Linked DNA regions of Homo sapiens: region 1 is linked to region 2. Evidence: promoter capture Hi-C in human tissues and cell types (Jung and others, 2019). All regions are on one chromosome and are shown on one strand. Each heading gives the region's core, a stretch centred on a gene start or on the middle of the fragment in contact. The rest is flanking DNA. Distances are from core to core; before and after follow the strand shown.

What was found. The method cuts DNA at HindIII sites, captures the fragments that hold promoters and counts their contacts. A contact is called where the count stands out against the background at its distance.
Region 1: a contact is called between a fragment that was not itself captured here and the fragment with the promoter of DIRC1 in region 2, in 4 of the 25 tissues and cell types used here (IMR-90 fibroblasts, bladder, mesenchymal stem cells and 1 more).

The regions. Positions count from the first base shown.
Region 1 is chr2:188,673,829-188,676,707 of GRCh38, forward strand. All of the region lies in intron 2 of LOC105373790 (a long non-coding RNA gene), which reads left to right. Among named protein-coding and RNA genes, the nearest start is that of DIRC1, 110 kb to the right of the region's middle. RefSeq lists an enhancer at 283-783. The HindIII fragment of the contact is 4,093 bases long and covers 1-2,879 here.
Region 2 is chr2:188,788,740-188,791,477 of GRCh38, forward strand. It overlaps DIRC1 (disrupted in renal carcinoma 1), which reads right to left and starts at 1,384. Exons shown (of 2, transcript NR_161166.1): 1 at 1,124-1,384. The HindIII fragment of the contact is 6,834 bases long and covers 1-2,738 here.

The DNA.
Region 1 (2,879 bases), core at 301-2,800, 110 kb before region 2:
TGCTTCCAAAATTATAGCTGATGCAGTTTTTAAAAATGTTTGGCCACAGCATCCCGTCACTGTCCTTCTAACTTCTAGTAGCAGTTTTTCACCATCTAGTACATGGACATGAGGCTAGTGCTGCCTGCTTAAGGTTTTCTGATATAGTAGTACTCATCTTGTCTATCAGTCAGGACACATAAAATTATATAATCTCTCTAAAGATTGTGGTGTAAAGATGTTTATTTTCTCACACTGCATATGTCCATTAGGAGTAAGTCCATGCAAGAATAATGATAAATCTGTTATTAGATCCTAGAACATTATACAGTAGCAAAATATTTTGTAAAACAGTAATAGCCTGTAGTTTTCACTCCAGGAATTAGGGTGAAAAAATAGCCTCTCTCTGGAACATAGCAAGCCTCATGACACAGGGACAAAAGAAAAATGAACTTGAAGCTTCTGTTCAGGAGTGGCACACATCGCTTCCACAAACAATTAATTGGCTAAAGCAAATCACCTGAAGCTCTTGTGTTTAAAGGGCAGATGCTCTGCCAGGGGGGAGAAGAAATACTCATGAAAGTAATAAAAGATTACTTTTGCCTTTCTCCTTCATTGACTCTATTTTTCAGACAGACATGAGCAGGGCAGGAGATGGTGAACCTGCAAGCAGGAATGTCAGGCGACCATCAGGTGATGTTCAGGCGGTTGTTAACTGTCTCTCTAAAATAATAGTTGGTTGCAGCCAGCACGAGGGAAAGGCAGTCTCCCCGTAGATAGAAAATACCTAAAAAAATTGGTGATCAACAGCTTGCCTGTAAGATCTCAGGAGTTGCATGAGTGAGCTCGAGCATGCACACTAAGAGGCAAAACGGTGAAGTTTAACTGGTATATGACCTCCTAGGGACATTTGGCTGGTAAGGGAAGAATACCTCAAGTGAACATGCCTGCAACTCCAGTAAACGCACCTTGCACTCTCCTCCCAAGTGCTATCAGGCCACTGCACATGCAGATAGCCCACTACAAGCAAAGAATCAGGGGAGAAAAGAGGCAGACCTTGGAAGTATGCCAACGTATGAAACCCCAAGTCAAAAGGTCAAATGCACACTTGGCTTTCTCAAGTAGCCCACCTGTCCCTCTTCCAACTATAATTTCCTTCCTTTTATTTCTGCTCTAAAGCTTTTTAATAAACTTTCACTCCTGCTCTAAAATTTGCTTTAATTTCTGCCTTATGCACTTCAGTCAAATTCTTTCTTCTGAGGAGGTAAGAATTGAGGTACTGTAGACCCATATAGATTCGCCGCCGGTAACGTTTTGGTGCGGTGTGACTGGGATAATTTCCACTCCTAATATATTCTGTCTGTGGAATTCTTGGTTTTAACTTTCTGAGTGTTTTGGCTGTATGTCCTAGGATATTGCTCTGAATTTATCTTCCATATGATTAATTTAGTCTTCAACAGTGTTTATTCTGTTATTTTATTTTTAATCAAGCTTAAATATTATAATTAATTCTGAAGTGGGTACTTAGTTTTTTTTATTTTTTAGTTTGTATTTTAGCTTGTTGTTTTTTAGTTTGTCTCTGATTCACACCAGTCTGCTAAATTTGAAGGTAAAATCTGTGCAGATGCATAGAGCATATTGATAAGAAAGATTCAATAGAAATACAAGGTGAAGGATGCAGACAATGCATTTGACTTTCTCAACTGTTAAAACAGGAGAAACTTGCTCTGGAAAGAGACTACTTTCATGATTTTTTTTTCCTTCCTGGCATCTTCAGATAAGACATTCTCCAAATTTTTGTGGATTCCCCCAAACTCTAATTAACAAAAGAATGGAAAAAAGAAAAAGAACCTTCTTAAGAAATAAGTAAGTATGAAGCATGAAGTTCTCTGTATTTTAGCTTGGAAAACTCAACCCAACAATATTTGGATGAGAATATTAAAGCTCCCTCTCTCCTTTACTTATACTATACAATTAAATGACTAGGCAAAGACCCTTAGTCATTCTCCCAGAGCAACATAATAATTTATGGGGCCAGATGAAAAATCTGAGTCACTCTCATTGTTGGGATAGATAATTCTACCAGCAACTGAGCCCAGTAATTTAGATGTATAGTGGTAAATAAATGATGGCTTTTTAACTCTTGTTGACTAAGAATCATTTATGTATTTATTTCTCTCTCTTAATGCTTAGTACTTAAACATTATGTTACTGTACTTTCAGCAATGGCCTTGTGAGTAAACAATTATCAGTGGGGGGTGAAATTGTGGAAAGGGGAAGTAAAAAATGTTAAGGATGCAATTTCTTAGTGAAAAATGAATGTGCAGATATGTAAAAATATCTTGGTGTGTGACCATGGTTTTGTCTCACATGGGTTACTTCTGTAGCTCTGACTCAGACTCATGTGCTTCTCAAAATCCATTTTCAAAGGAGATTATCCCATGTTTTACTGTTATATATCAGATTACTTTCTCTAACAGTGGTCTGTTCCAGCATTCACTGGCTCCACCCTCCTGGGAAGTTATGTTTCTATTTTTTCAAACAATTCTGCTCTTCTATAATGTTACGATACTTTTGTCTGTTTCTTTAGTACTGTATACCCATATCCCTAGATCATAGCAGGCATTTAATATATTTCATTGAATAAATTAAAAATGCATAAATTGGGCACCTAATTGTACATCTGGTGATAAATATCTCCCTAAATGTGCACTGTTCAGAGGAGTCAAATCATAATTAAAACCACTTTAGGATGAGCGGCCAATCTGTTTGATGGCGAAGCCATTCTGTCATGCCATTTTAATTATAATGATTCTCGTCAAAATGTTCTAGAAATTTGATTCCAAGATTTTGGTAGATTAATGTCTTGTTGACATTTTAGGAATTGGCGTTCACTTTTC
Region 2 (2,738 bases), core at 134-2,633:
ATCTTTTATTTTTCTTTGTGTTAGTTCCTGTTCATGTGTGGGAGAACATTGGTCAGTGACTCACATTACTGACACACAGCCAGCACAGCTGGATAGGCACAGAATGCATTTCATAATAAAAGGGACAAAGAAAGAAAGATAGAGAAAAAAGTTTATGTGTTTGGTTTATTTTAAAAATCTATACAGCTTAATGCTAAAAAGCAAGAACCAAATTTTTCTAAACAAACAGCTTCAAGGAAAAATAATTTTGGAGGGACTAATTAAAATTACTTTAAGAACTCTTAATATGTAAAATACTTCTTTAAGGCAGCTATTCCCTGTGGAAATCTTACCCTCTCCCATGAAAAAGAACCAGCAATTTATGACTGTCATGAGAGTAAAACTCTAGTGAGAATTTAGAAGTACACACAATAAAATAAAAATACTCCACAATAGTTTTGAACTCTTGAAGAAAATGACAGGAATAGTATTATGTGTAACCAAATATATATATATACACACACATATATATACGTATATATACATATATACGTATATATATACACATATATACGTATATATACATATATACGTATATATATACACATATATACGTATATATACACATATATACGTATATATACACATATATACGTATATATACACATATATACGTATATATACACATATATACGTATATATACATATATATACGTATATATACACACATATATATACACATATATATATATATACTCAGAAATATCTGCACTCCAGCTTTGAAAATGTGAGTTAGCTGACACATAACAATGTCAAAGAAGACACATTTTTACAGAAGAACTTTCCTTAAATAAAATAACATTTCCCAATCCATTAAATGTAAATGACATAGTCACTTATCATATATTTTGTCTATGCTGTATAGAAGTTAAATTAAGTTGTTCGCTGTATACTTAAAACTAAAGGTTTTAGGATATGAGGTACTTTACAGCATGTCTATTATCACTAGTAAGAAAAGACTCTATAAATGTAAAAGGAAAGATCACTTCTTCAGACTATGTTAATAGAGTAGACTGTCCTGGCCTAAAATCTTATGATTGAGAAATGAGTGCCATAGCCAACCCACCATTTTGACAGAGCTCACCTGAATTTTTCCTTCTGGTGATGAGAAGCAATGCCAGAATTTCTACTCCAGCCATCTTCACACTTGTGGAGAGAAATTCAATAGTGATACATTTGTAGTGAGGAGAAAGATGTGTTAGCTTAACAACTGATGCAGGGTCTATCTTTTAAGGAAGATATTGTGTTTGTGGAGGAAAACATCTTGGAAGGTATTTAGAAGTGGAAAGTAAGACTTTAAGGGCAAGAGAAACTCTGCCCATGTCAAGAGACACAACTAAACTGCTTTGTATTTGGAAATCAATAGGAATTTGGAGAGAGAAACTAAAAACATGAGTAATCAACAAAAGATGATTTAACCTACATGATCGGAATCTGAAGCCCAAGATTTGGAAGGAGAGAGGGAACTTTAGGAACATCAATATCTAACATAGAATATTACATCTTGAGCCTTTTGGCAGTGTAAATCTCTACATCCCCTATAACTCAGTAGTCCTTTACACATATAAGAGTTTCTATAAGTAGTTTGGCATAACTAAGAAAAAGTATAGTGATCCACATCTAAAACAATATAATGCAAAACATAATAATACATATTGGACATTTAGATTATCCCTAAACTGATTCACACTAAGCAGGACTTAAGAGCTGAAAGTGATCATAAATTCTGATGAAATTTGAAAATTCTTGAGATACAGGTTGAACTCAGTGGAAAATACATTGAATCAATCTTACTGATCTCAAAAGGCAGGGAAATGCTGTTGAAATTTAGTTTACATAATTATTTTCTCTTTTTCTGGCTGTCCTTAAAGCTAACACTTGGCATGATACTAAAAACATTGTTTTAAGAGAAAATCTATTGTGGACAAATACAAGCTTTAGGAATAAATTAAAATGTTTAGAGGAATTAACACATCTGTGTAAAATTTTACATGTGTGCCAAACTGGTCCCCAAGCTAAAACTAGTGACATATTAAAACCCAACATATTAGCTCACACATTTACAATGAAATACAACACTTTTCGTAATACTATAGTTTGTGACAGTTCAAGAAGTGATGAATTGGAAAACATGCTATGATAGGCATGGGCAATTTAGAGCTCAGTCTGGACAATCGGTGATGATTAATCTTAAGAGGATTTCTGAAGTTCAGGCAACAAATGATTAAAAATCAACTTCAACAATAGTCAATGATGGCTGAATGTAAGATATTTAAACATGCATTGGAAAATACAATGGAACTAATTGTAGTCATGGACATTGAGAGAAGACTTCTGGATTCAGACAAATTTTTGCTCACTCAAATCCCTGTAACATTGTTTACCTTATATTACATGTCATAAATTGACTACGTTATGAAATAGGAAGGGTAATATCTATTTTTAAATGTAATAATTATAAACAATGTATAAAATATGTGACACAAAGAAGACTGGCAGTTTATAGTGACTATTGTATTATTATTTTGATTTTAGTAGTTGAACAGGAAAAAGAGAGAACAGCACAGACTGAAGTATTTATATCTCAATAATTAAACTTACTTAATATTTTCTATTATACATTTACCTAAAAAGTACAGGGCTGATACTTCCATATTTATATGGAATAACAGTTCTTAAAATATATAAAGCAAAATATT